Linked DNA regions of Homo sapiens: region 2 is linked to region 1. The links are contacts of gene promoters, found by promoter capture Hi-C in blood cells and fetal thymus (Javierre and others, 2016). All regions are on one chromosome and are shown on one strand. Each heading gives the region's core, a stretch centred on a gene start or on the middle of the fragment in contact. The rest is flanking DNA. Distances are from core to core; before and after follow the strand shown.

Region 1 (6,940 bases), core at 2,130-4,629:
TCTCTTTTGAGCAGTAACTCAATTTGAGTTCCTTTCACCTCAGAGTCCTTTGCCATGTAGAAAGGAAAGAGAGGGCTGGGCACGTTGGCTCATGCCTGTAATCCCAGCACTTTGGGAGGCCGAAGCGGGTGGATCATTTGAGGTCAGGAGTTTGAGACCAGCCTGGCCAATACGGTGAAAATCTCTCTCTACTAAAGAGTACAAAAATCAGCCAGGCGTGGGGGCAGGATTCTGTAATCCCAGCTACTCCGTAAGCTGAGGAAGGAGAATTGCTTGAACCTGGGAAGCAGAGGCTGCAGTGAGCTGAGATCGCACCACTACACTCCAGCCTGGGTGACAGAGTGACTCTGTCAAAAAAAAAAAAAGAATGAATGAATGAAAAAGAAAAAAAAAAGGAAAGAGAGAGTGTGTGCAGATAATCACTCAGGATGTTTTATGGTCAACCTGGAAGGAAAAAAGCTCTTCACAGCCCAAACCTAGATCCAAGTATACCTAGAAAATGTCTCATAGCCATGAACCCAGAAAGAAAACTAGATACTGGGATGGAGGTGGGGAGTGGGGCGATGCTCTGAAATGTTCTACCACAAAGGTGATCCCAATCAAGGTCTAGTGGGAAAACAGACATGCAAACAGACACAAGTGCCCCAAGTGTCATAAAATCAGTAATAACGATATGAATAGGGTGCTCTGGACGCTCTGCTGAAGGAGGTAGGATTTTAAACATTTTTATCAGCTATTGGTACAATTTCATAAATGTGCTTGAAACTTAATTGGTTTAGTCTATTAAATTTGTAATTGTTTTTCCACAAAAATTGTAAGCCCGTGTTCCCTAACTCAAAAACAGAGCCCTGCTGGCAAGCCTGGTTCGGCAACTGGAATCAGAGCGTGGGTGTTTATCAATACTCGTTATATGTGCTTACTGGAACATAAATTCACCTGGAATGGGGATCTCTCAGCGTGAAGGGATTTTAATAGGATTCATTCATACATTTGTTCAACATTTTATAAAGACATCTGTCCCCAAAATTCAATTTACAATTTTTACAACATTTTACAAAGACTTTGATCTCCAAATCTCCATTTACAAATTATTTTACAAGAATTTACATTCATTGCAAAGGTTTCTTTCCAGAGTTTTTTAAAGGTCATTTTTGCCTTGGGTCCAAAACTGTTACTTTTAGATGAGAGGAGAAGCAGCTGAGGTTTACATGTGGAGACTGTGTGTGATGAAAGGGCAGGACACAGCGGCCCCTGGATCCTAATTCAGACCAGCCTGCCTCTGGCAATAGGAAAGTCATTTGTTCCTGCGAGCCCGTATCATAATCTGGCACAACTGGAGGTTAGAACAATCCTTAAAACTCTTTGGCTGTGGGATTCTAGTTTGCCATCTTAATTTATACATTCTATTTCGGCGCTGATTCTCCAGCCCTTTCCCTTTTAAGTGATCCTAATTAGAAAACACACAGGAGGATCCTTCCAGGATTTAAAAGCTGCTGGGATCCCCTCTTTGATCTCCCATCTGAAATACGGACGGTTATTGTTTCGCGTTTCCCCCCACTCCCCCCGACCCGCACTCCAGTGACAATTATTGGCATTTTAGAGCCTAGAGATAGAAATAAGATGTCTGACAGGCCCGGCTGCCTAAAAATCCAAAGCAAGCACCCCTCCAAACATCTCCCCTCCTCCCTCGCACCGTTCCCCACCCAAAAAAAAATAATGAAAAGGAAAAAATATAGCAGACTCTATAAACAGCTGCCAATTTATTAATAAGATGCTGGAGTTAGTTAGAATTTTAAAGATGCTTCAGGCATCTTTAAGGAGGCAGCAAGCCCTTCCTCTCCCGGGCACAAATAAGCCCAACCAGCAGACCCTACCTTAACTACCGCTATTTAAATTCTGCAAAGTACCGCGGTGACCGGAGGAACCTTCGCAAAGGCGCAAGGGTTTGCCTTAATTTGGTTAATACTTGGTTGAGATGCCTTGCGAGAACTCGAAAGCAGTTGAATTAAGAATCTTAAATCTTTCTAGGACGCGGAGAAGGAAGGTAGGAAATTGGGGAGGGGGAAAGGGAGGCGTGCCGTCAAGAAAGAGTTGATTATTTATTTAATTTCATTCACCAAGGGAGAATTCGGAGGCTCCATCCCGGAGGCACTGGGGTCCGGGACGCGGGAAAGGCTTGGAAATGTGCGACGCGGCTGTGTGCGAACGCGTGGACTAGGTCTTGGCTCGCTGGGAGGGAAGGGCTGGGCCGGCGCTGGGGAGGAGGAAGGGAGGGAACGGGTAGGAGGAGGGGAAGCGCAGTATAAAAGTCCCGGCCGGACTGAGCGTCCGCTACTCCGAGTCACTTCGGTAAGGCGGGAGCCCGAGCAAGGTCAAGGAGGGAAGTGCGCGGTGCCACGGACCGACACAGTTCGCTCTAGCATCTGACGCTCGGACTCCGCGCCCTCAGCCGGATCCCAGAGCCCTTCCATTCGCCAACCGCCCACTGCAAGGCATGAGCCGCACGCGGGAGCCCGAGGCTGCAGCGCGGTCATGAGGCGGTGGCCCGGGATCGACAGCTGCGCGACGCCAGCCCCCAAATCCCCTCTGGGCGCGGCACCCCCGGGATGAGCCCCCCACAGAGGCAAGCCCACTAGAGCTGAGATTCACTCCGAGTTCCTGAGCGCCTGAGCCGCGGGCACTGCGTCTCTGCAGCTTCCAGCCAACACCTGCGCCCGTGACCAGACGAACGCCTAGAGAGTCGGACTCCCCTCCCTTCCCAGGCTCTACGGGGCGCCGCGGATCCGCGAACAGCCGTGCCCGGCTAGCGGGCGGCCCAGCAAGTGTCAAGACCCTTCGGAACGACACTTTGGCACTCCTCCTCTCCCCCGACTGCTTCAGGCAGGGGTCGCAGGCAGACGCATGGCTTGTCCGGCGCCCCCTCCGTTTTCCATCACTGCAACTCCAGCTCCAGTTTGCCAATAAAGGTTTCTAAAGCAGCCCAGGCACCACCCCACCCACCCACAGCCCCGAGCCTCAGTGTGCACAAGGGCTCTACCCGCGCCCGTCACAGCGACCTCGGCAGCGGGCACTTGGTACAGCCCGGCAGGCTGACGCTGCCGCCGAGGGCGCCCCGGCTACCGCCAAACCGTGACAACCTCGGTGTGCCCGGGGCCCCCATCTGGAACCGGCCCTCCCCGGGACTCCGAGTGCGGGGCGGCGCGGCAGGCGGCCCCGAGGAGCGCGGAGAGTAGTGGAGGTGGCTTGCCGGGTGAGTGGCTCGGGGCGGCGAGGGCGGGGGCGCCAAGCGTGGAGGTAACTCCCGGCCGCAGCTGAAGCCCTCCTACTCCTCCTCCTCCTCCTCCTCCTCCTCCTCCTCCTCCTCCTCCTTCTCCTTCTCCTCCTCCTCCTCCCCGCGCTTCTCTGGCGGCCGCTCCCGCTCCAGCTGCGGCGCCGCGGCCACATCTGGGGCGCCCATGTGCGCTCGGGGGCTCGGCTGCGCCCGCCCCGCCGCCGACCCCGCAGCCCCCTGCCAGCAGGGTGGCCTCCGGCCCGGCCCGGGTCCCGGGCTGTCCCGGGACCCAGTCTCCGTCTCCGCCGCCGCCGCCGCCAGGCAGCGCCGGGGCTTGCTCCGCAGCCGGCTTGGACACCCCCGGCCTCGCGGTGGCTCCGCCGTGGTGCGGCGGCGGCGGCGGCGGCGGCGCCGGCAGCTCCTGCTCCCCCGGCCCCGCACACCCCGCCGCGCCCAGCGCCAGCCCCGCGGGCCCGGGAAGCGGAGCCCTGGCGGGAGCCGAGGCGGGAGCCGCGCTGCCGGGCTCCCGGGCTCCTACTCCTCCTCCCCCGGCGTCACCGCCGCCGCCGCCGGCCGCCGCGCCGGGTCCTAAAGCCGCGCGTCTCAAAAGGATGGTGCGCCTGGCGGCCGAGCTGCTGCTGCTGCTGGGGCTGCTGCTGCTCACGCTGCACATCACCGTGCTGCGCGGCTCGGGAGCCGCCGACGGGCCCGACGCGGCCGCGGGCAACGCCAGCCAAGCCCAGCTGCAGGTGAGTGCGCCGCCGGAGAGGGCCGTGCGCGGCTGCGGGGACGGTTTGTGGGGCGGGGGTGCTGAGCTAGTGCCGGGTGGATGCAGGGAGGCAGGTCCCCTGCCCCACCTAAGAGCAACTGTTTTGGCAGTAGTTTTGCCCGGGCCACTTGACTTAGGCAGAGGCGGAGCGGGGGCACGTGCCTGGAGGCTGCACCCGGCTTCCAGGTCTGCGGGCTGCGCTCCTTCAGTTCTGTCTGTCACGGGTCAGGTGCGGGGTTGGTGGGGAGGTGGGAAGGAGCGAGGTTTGGGATGAGCAGAGGAAGTGTGGAGAATGTGCTTGCTTGGGGGTGCTACCAGTCTTTCGTTGCCCTTCGGAGGCTGAGTAATGTTACTCGAGGCTGGAGGGACGCAAGGAGACTTTATAGGATGATATCCCTGAAGTCTTTGGGAGAAAGAACTCCGGGAGTCTACCCCTTTAGGAAGCAATGCCAAAGGTCAGGACATAATTTCCCAAGGAGAATAGCCAGGCATCCCCTCCTCACCCTCAGGGTTCCCTTGCTTCCAGTGTTCCTCTTCCTCCGGGAGCCTCGCCTGAGGTTCCCCCCTCCCCCCTTGTGCCCCCTTGGTCATGGGGAAGGTGCAGAGTGAAGGCACCGGTAGTGATTTGGGCCAGGGTTACCTGGGGCTTTTAAACTTGTAGCAAAGTCTTTCTCCCAAGGATCTTCCCCGTTGAAGGTCGCTTTAGCAATGGGATTCTGTTTATCCATTTCAACTTCAGGGCAAGGAGAGGGCGTAGTGGACGGTCAGACATAATGTGAGTTCTGACTTAGGAATAGAATTGCCCAGCTAGGCATTTCCTGCCGCTATGTTAGCGCCTTTCCTTGAGTCTAGGGGTGGGACAACTGTAAACTTGGAGCATAGGCAAAAGCAAGCAGGGATTTTCCCAGGAGGCAGAGGGGATTCTCTGGCTCCTAAAATCTGCTCAAACCAGGCGCGGTGGCTCACGCCTGTGATCCCAGCACTTTAGCAGGCAGAGGCGGGTGGATCACCTCAGGCCAGGTGTTGGAGACTATCCTGGCCGACATGGTGAAACCCCGTCTCTACTAAAAATACAAAAATTAGCTGGGCGTGGTGGCGCACGCCTGTAGTCCCAGTTACTCGGGAGGCTGAGGCAGGAGAATTGCTTGAACCCGGGAGGTTGTAGTGAGCTGAGATCGCGCCACTGCACTCCAGCCTGGGCGACAGAGCGAGACTCCGTCTCAAAAAAAAAATAAAATAAAATAAAATAAAATAAAATAAATAAATAAATAAATAAAATGAAATAAGCATTATTCATTGTTCCCAAAGGCCTTTATATTCATTGTCTTTGATAATTCACTTTTTACATCTTTATACAATTTATTGCGAAAAACTTTACCGTAAAGAGAAAACTAATAAAACACTTCCATTGTGTTTACTACGTGCCACCGTTTTAAGTACTTTACAGAATTTAACTCACTTAATTTAACCATAATCTTACAAGACATGGTACTGTTAATATAGCCTCATTTACAGATGCAAAAACTGAGGTACAGAGAGGTTAAAAAACTTGTCAAAGTTCAGACATTCCAAACTCTTGATTACACCAAATTTTGTCTCTACCAGGATAGACTAAAGCAAGGTGATTATTGCACGCAATTACAAAACAGTAGAAAAGTACACACCCCAAAGCTTAAAGTTGTTTTAACTTTGAGACATTTCTAAAAATGTCCTAACTTTGTGGGTTCTCTCACCTTCTCCCGTGGGTAGATAAGTACAGTGACAGACTGAGGGAATTTCTATGCGGAAGTTGAAGATGCCACCATCCTATAGACTGGGGCACCCACCAATCTAACACTGCGGAGATAATTCTTAATATCTTCAAGATTTCTGGAAGTTATATTTTATACATGATGCTTTCTTTCCTCATGGACTCATGAAAAGCCATAAAAATGATGTTCTGTGGAAAAGTAAATTTGGCAGATTACTTTATGAGGTGTTTGCTATCATTAGAATAACCCGGGGTTGGCCTTTTCCGCTTGAACAGTAAGGTAATGAGAGAAGCAGCTGGTGGAAGTGGCAGTTCTAAAAGGGAAGTGGACTGAATTCTCAAAAGGGGCTTTGGCTGAAGAACTGCCCCAAGAGGACACAACAAATGGGGGATTTAGAAAGAGTTATGCTCCTAGAAATATCTTGAGTCCCAAGTAGCTGCTAATCCACCAGCTTCAGCTTATCTTGTAATAGTGTTCGGTGAGACTGTCCACTCAATGCACACACTTTTCCAAGCAGAATGATGAGTTTAGCAGTTTAGTTCATAATTTTGCTGTTTTGTAATTTGTTATTATAAAAGTTTTATACTCTTCCTGACCAAAGTTATTTCTTTGGCCCTCTGACTCTCTGAAGGTATTATAAGTCAAAAGAAGAATGTTCTGCCAAATGAGGAGGTCTGCAAAAGACATTTATTAGTCCATCGTTTTCAGGCCCCAGAAAGTGAATTTGCTAGTAGCAGGTGTATTTGAAGACAAAACTGTGGACACTGTATTCTTTCTTTTTACCAGACATTTTAAACCCAAGTCTTAAACATCATCTAAATTTGTTGGTTCTGTGCTATCCTGAGCTACTAAAATCCTTCTTCACAATCAGAAAATTAATCAATCCATATACATCATTTTTATTGTTTTTATCTCTGTGTACAACCTTCTAAAATATAAGGTTGTCTTAGTCAGAAATATGCAATGGTGAGTTTATTTACCTGAATTGTAGTATGTTTGTATTCACTTAAAAAGGGACACATTCTTATTTAAGGATATATCAAGGACGCCCAATAAAGTAGTAGTAAGAAAAGCAACAATAATAGTTAAGATTTATTAAGTGCCTTTTATGTGGCAGGCACTGTTCTTAGCACTTTACACATACTAGCT
Region 2 (6,752 bases), core at 1,164-3,663, 2.8 Mb before region 1:
TTTGGAGGGCGTGAGGCACACCCTTGAGGATCACTGAGGTCAACTAGCTTGGGGCATCATGCCTGGCATGTTGTTCTTTTTTCTTTTTTTGGGACAGTCTCACTCTGTTGCCCAAGGGGGAGCGTAGTGGTGTGATCTCGGCTCACCTCCGCATGCCAGATTTAAGGGATTCTCGTACCTCAGCCTCCCAGGTAGCTGAGATTACAGGCCCACGCCACCATGCCCGACTAATTTTTGTATTTTAGTAGAGACGGGGTTTCACCATGTTGCCCAGGCTGGTCTCAACTCCTGGCCTCAAGTGATATGTCCGCCTCAGCCTCCCAAAGTGCTGGGATTACAGGCATGAGCCATGCACGCCCCGTGGCATGTCCTTGGCTGATTTTCATGTCAGGTATATAAAAGGTTAACAGCTGTCATTTCACTTGTCCAAAATTAGAGGGCATCTTACAGTTCTGGAGGTAAGAAAAACAAAAAAATTAGAGGGCAAAAGAGTCTATATCCTCCAAAAACACATCCGTGACCTACTAATGGTTGAGATTAGCTGGGTTAGTTCAGTTTTCTTTAATTTAGTTCTCAGTATAGAATGACAGCAAGAGATTAATGAACAGAAGAGGGAGAACTTGCTATGCTTCTACCTCATTATAAATACTGTAATCTTTTAGAGTAGCTTAAAGGCCAAGAAAAGAAAACACTGACACACACACACACACACACACACACACACACACACACACACACACACACAAAGTAAGGTTAAGGGCAAAAAGGCAAGCAAGCTTCCTAGAACTTCCCAAACAGCTGGATCTAGCCATCAGATTATTCTATCTAGCATAGTATTAGTTAAAGCCATCAAGTTTTTTTAATTGCTTCCTGCAAAATTAGGCCTAAAATAACTTGGATGCAGGGAATGTTACATCAAATGTTCTCATTTTGCCTATTGGGCTTGCTGGGCGCCATCTGCTGGCCTTTTGGACACAGTGTAAAACGGATTCTTTTTGGTCTTAATTGCTGTTGTGATTTGAAAAAATTGTAATTTTTAAAAACTTCCACTGAATGTAATTTAATCATGAGAAGAACATTAGATAGAATATTAAAAACCAATTAACCCAGCTCTTGTGATAATGAAACTTTATGAAGTTTACTGGAATTGTACTATGCCTTTTCTTTTACAATGACAATGTTGGCTTTAGGTATTTGTGAATTCTTCATTTCTGAATTCTCATCATCAACATTCAAAAGTTATTTTTTATCCTCAATTTTTAATACAGCAGTTTGAATTGTGGCATTTTTTCTGTGTACACAATAGAAAAGACTGCACGTGGTCTTCAACTGTGCTATGAAATGAACTGACATGGTAAACAGAACAATCGTTTTCCTTTTTCTTTTCCAACTATATCACCTAAAATAACACTCATTTTGCTGGACTTCTCCAGTCTTGTAAAAACACACACCCCAAAAACAATACTGTAATTCTTAATGAACCCATGGATCATAATTGAGTTCTAAAGTTTCCATTCTGCAAATCCTACCACCTTCCCCACCAAACCATTCAAGGTCAGCTTGACCTATATCCAAGAGCTGGGCTGCTAACAGCGTAACTGAGTCAGGAGTGGATCTGCAGTCAGAAGGCCGAAACAGGTATGCGTAAGTATCTTATGTCTTTTGCTATTCCTCCCTGCTCATTGCTGTGAATTTAATGTATTTGTAAATAAAAAATATACTGAAAGCATCATAAGTCTTATATGGGGGTTTCACTAATTGTAGGCAGTCTCAAATATTAAGCAAGTGATTAACAACTAATGAGAAGTGAAAACTAGCTTACCAGCAAGCTGTGGTTTATCACAATGGTTGTAGTGGTTTATAGAGTTGTCTGAGAATCCTGTCCCCTTTCACTGTTTTTACACCCTGGCTGCCATTTGATGCTGGTGATTGGTGGAGGAGAGGGGAGTAGGTATCATGCAGATAGCCAGATTGTTCCAGATCAGATACCTAGATGAATGGGCCTTTAGTGCTACAGCAAACACTTTATGTTCCTGGTATGTTCTGAATCCCTAAAGAGCCCATTTCTACCCTTCATCATTTTCAAGATTTTAATTGTATGCTCCACCTTCATTTCTGCAGATAACCTATTGGCCAGAGGACATTATAGCTCTTTAGGTATGAACACCTCTAACTTGTTGTCCCCTTATGTGCACCTTAGCTCTCAACTAAATCTTCTTTCAGCTGGGCGCGGTGGCTCACGCCTCTAATTCCAGCACTCGGGGAGGCTGAGGAAGGTGGATCACTTGAGGTCAGGATTTTGAGACCAGTTTGGCCAAGATGGTGAAACCCCATTTCTACCAAAAATATGAAAAATTAGCTGGATGTGGTGGGTGCACCTGTAATCCCAGTTACCTGGGAGGCTGAAACAGGAGAATCGCTTGAATCCAGGAGGCAGAGGTTACATTACAGTGAGTCGAGATCGCGCCATTGCACTCCAGCCTAGGTGACAGAGCAAGACTCCGTCTCAATAAATAAATAAATAAATAAAACTCCTTGCCTGCTGTCAGAAGAACTGGTATTCCTATTACCTGTGTTCCAGTCCCACTTTCTACTGTGTCTTTGGGGTTCTAACTTCATTATCCCCTCTCATCTACCTCCAACCTTCCACTCTTAAGGGCCTTTCTCTTTTGCATAACTATGACTATTTTTCTCCACTGAAAAGAGTCAAAAACAAATTCCCTAAGGCAACTGCCCTTTACCATCTTCCTTCCCAGTACTACACAATCTCTTTCCTTTCAAATAATGCATCTTTTCCTAGTCACTTCCCATTCCATCTTCAAACCCAAGCAATCTGCTTTTGTTTCATTCTCCATGGAAAGTGTTCTGACCATAAAGATCACCAATCCTTCCCCTTACATAATCTCCCTGTAGCCTTTTGATGTGTTCTTGAGACTCCTAAGTACTCAGGACTCTATACTGTTCCTTCTTAGTCTCCTTTAATAGCCTGCTGGTTTCCATCCACCTATTCATCCTTATCAAAGATCTGTCTTTGGTAGTGTTTGTTTCCTGGGCGGTCTCATTCAATCCCCAAACTTCTATGATCATGCATCCACTCTGGCTCTCACACGTTCATCTCCAGCTTAGACCCACATAATAAACTGCTACTGTACACCTTTGAACTAACCGTCCCCACAAATAGTCTCAATTCATCTCATATAAAAATAAGTCCTCTTTCCCTCCCAAACTGCTGTTCCACCTGGATTTCCTGTTTCGTTAACAAAAAGCATCATCTACTAAGCCATTCAATTCAGAAATCTGGATATACTGGACTCTGCCCTTTTCCTCATGCTCCTCATCAACTCACTCAGCACATCCTGCCATTTGACATAAGTGTTTCTTTACATAATCCCTCCTCCCTAGGGTCACAGTCCAGACCCTCGCGCCCTCACATGACCTCCTTGCTTCAATTCCAGTAGTTCTCAAACTGTGGTCCTCTCAACAGTGCCATTAGCAACACTTGGGAATTTACTAGAAATGCAAATTATCAAGCTGCCCCTCCTGACCTACTGAGTCAGAAACTCTAGGGTGGGGTCCAGTAATCTGTGTTTTAATTAATTCTTTAGGTAATTCTGAAGCTAAAGTTTGAGACCCACTGTTCTAGTCTACATCCACTAATCCATTCTCTACACTTTTAATATAGCCATCTTGCAAAACAAAAAACAAAAAAACAAAAACAAAAACAAATCTGGTTGTATTCCTGCTTTGCTTAAAAGCCTTTAGTGACATTTTTGACTAGAGTGAAATCTAAATTTCTTAGTACAGCAGAAAGAAAAATCCACTAGGATCTAGATCCTGCCTACCAGTTTTCAGAAAGTCAAGCACTTTAAATCATTTTTGTAAGAATGCATTGTCATGTAGTGATTAAGGGATGAGCTGTGGACTCATACCACCTGGCTTTGAATCTTCACTTACCACTTTACAACTGGCTGTGTGGCCTTGGATTAGTCACTTAATCTCATTGTGCTTCAGTTCCATTGTGTGTACAATGTGAATAATAACATCCATATCATAAGCTTGCTGTGCAGTTATCACAATACTTGGCACTTTGTCTGGGCTCAGTAATTGTTAGCTATTATTATTTTGATTATGTCAAAAAGAAAAAAAACATTACTGGAATTAACCTGTAGTATAGCAAGAACTGGAGAGGATTAGAATTAATGCCCAAACTAAGGGAAGTGGTCCCCATAAAGGAAGGCCCACTTCTCTGGGCAGTTTCAGTTAGTTAGCTAAGAATAAAAATACCCAGTCTCAACAGAGAGGTTCAGAGGTCTTTGGGGTTTGACTAGGGTAGTGAATCTGGTAATTAGATTCTAGGATATTATAGGACAGATAACTGTCAAGCTTCTAAAGTGAGAGCCAGGAAAGCTGTGAAGGAAGTCAGAAAACTGATACAGAGCAAAGAAGCAAAGACGGTGAAAAATTTCATGTATGTTTCTCTAATAACAGTTAATAGAGCAGCCAAGTGATCAAATGTGAGAATCCTACAATGACTGAAACTTGGTCGACATTTTCAGACACGCTGTTGGTCTGAAACAACGTTTTACATAAGAGCAAAAGCATTGAGTAATGGCGAGAATCAAAGTCTAACCTCCACCACAAATTAGTTATGGTCTTGGACAAATTACTTCTCTCCTGCCTCAATGTCATGATCTGAAATAGGGGGCCACATTATGAAGAGAACTATATACATTCATAGCTTAGTACAGTGCCTAGCATGTGGGAAGTGCTCAATACACGGCAGCCATTACTTTTATTGGGAGTATATTATCTTATACGAATCATATATAAAAATAGGCACCCCTGGAGGTTCCTGCTTGATCAAAGCAATTATATATTATCATCGAATATTTTGACTAAAATTGGGTTCCAACTTATAAGGTGAGGAAATACTGTAAAGACAAATCCAAACACAGTCATGTATCCCACATTCACAATATTTAGGGATTAGCAATTTTCACTTCAAATATGTACAAGATTAATTCTATCCAAATGCTCACTTAGTGTCTATTAGGTGCTAGCAAGACTACTAGCCTCAGGGGGGAACTACCAAGAAGAGTAAGGCATGATTCTTGTCCTCAAGGAGAATACAGGTTTGAGAAGATAATGGGACAATCTTAATAAAACATAACTCAATGCTGTATAGGGTCAAAAAACCAAACCAAACCAAACCAAACCAAACCAAACCAAACCAAACCCGCACAAAAAACTGCATAAAGTCTTTACCAAGTTGACTCATTTTTCAAAATCATAGTTCTCATTTTTTCCTCTATCCTCCTCTGAATTAGTCTCAATCCATTTTTACTTACTCCATCTTTAGTTACGGCAGGGAGTCAAGATCTAGAAAAACTAGTCACTGCCACCCACGATAACAGAAGGTAGCAGCCACTTGTCTTCTCTGCTATATTCCTAGTGCGTAGCAGAAAAGTAGAGAATCTTGTCCCCTTTGGTCCACAGAGGATGGCTTATTCTTCTGCTTCAGCTCTTAGTTCAGATGTCACCTACTCAGAGAGCCTTTCTCTCAGCACTCAACCTAAAGTGTTTTCCCTCTCCCTCCCCATTATTCTCTAGCACGTGATTCCTTCAAAGCCCTACCTTTGTGATGAATGCTGTGATGTGCCACCCTGACCCCCCTAAGGAATGAAAGGCTTATTTCCCCAGCTCCTGGAAGAGCTGAGACAGACCTCGGCTGCCAGCCTCCGTCCATGATTGACTTGGCTGAAGAGAGTTGAAGTTAGGCCCTTTCCAGGGAAACAGACATCTAACGACAGATCAATCAAGGGGTATAAAAGCCTGGCCCTTCTCTTCAACTTTGAAGGGCCAACCCAGCACTAGAGTTCCTGTGGGACTGGTGGAGAACATCCTTGAGACTTCACTGCAGCTTAACTTTTTCTATTGCCCAATCCTGCTTCCTTTCTTCCTTGGTAATCATCCAAAAAGTCTTCTCTAGTAAATGTCCTGCCTCTAAATCTCCTCAGAGTCTGATTCTCAGGAAACCCAACCTAGGACAATCTAGAAACATCTTGCTCAATATCAATGTGCAATCACCCCTCAGTATTTGGGGGATTGCATCCAGGACCCATGATGGATACCCAAATCCAGATGCTCAGGTCCCTGATTTAAAAATTGTGTAGTAGGCCAGACGCCGTGGGTCATGCCTGTAATCCCAGCACTTTGGGATGCCGAGGCGGGTGGATCACCTGAGGTCAGGAGTTCAAGACCAGCCTGGCCAACATGGCGAAACACCATCTCTACTAAAAAATACAAAAATTAGCCAGGTGCAGTGGCGGGTGCCTGTAATCCCAAACTTCTCCGGAGGCTAAGGCAGGGAGAATTGCTTGAACCCGGGAGGCGGAGGTTGCACAGTGAGCAGAGATCCAGCTTCAGCCTGCGCGACAGAGCGAGACTCTTTGTCAAAAAAAAAAAAAAAAAAAAAAAAAATCGTGTAGTTTTGTACACAACTTGCCACCTCCTTCCATGTACCTTAAATAATCTCTAGGCTACTTATAATACCTAATACAACGTTAAATGCTATGTAAGTAGTTGTTACACTGCAGTGTTTAGGGAATGACAAGAAAAAAGGTCTGCACGTGTTCAGTACAGATGTAACCATCTTTTTTCCCCCAGAATGTTTTTATTTATTTATTTTCTTAAATAGAGTCTCTGTCGCCCAACCTGGAGTGCAGTGGCGTGATCTCCGCTCACCGCAACCT

The links. The method cuts DNA at HindIII sites, captures the fragments that hold promoters and counts their contacts. A CHiCAGO score of 5 or more calls a contact.
Region 2: a fragment that was not itself captured here is called in contact with the fragment with the promoter of ISM1 in region 1 in 1 of 17 cell types (total CD4 T cells); the score reaches 6.6 in total CD4 T cells.

Annotation. Positions count from the first base shown.
Region 1 is chr20:13,217,895-13,224,834 of GRCh38, forward strand. It overlaps ISM1 (isthmin 1), which reads left to right and starts at 3,380. Exons shown (of 6, transcript NM_080826.2): 1 at 3,380-4,020. The coding sequence starts at 3,883. It also overlaps a transcript of TASP1 not described here. RefSeq lists silencers at 3,163-3,282, 3,742-3,811. The HindIII fragment of the contact is 8,964 bases long and covers 1-5,709 here.
Region 2 is chr20:10,426,336-10,433,087 of GRCh38, forward strand. All of the region lies in intron 1 of MKKS (MKKS centrosomal shuttling protein), which reads right to left. The region is part of intron 1 of LOC128706665; the gene reads right to left. The region is part of intron 1 of LOC128706666; the gene reads right to left. Among named protein-coding and RNA genes, the nearest start is that of MKKS, 4.5 kb to the right of the region's middle. RefSeq lists a silencer at 1,928-1,977 and an enhancer at 5,282-5,783. The HindIII fragment of the contact is 3,279 bases long and covers 775-4,053 here.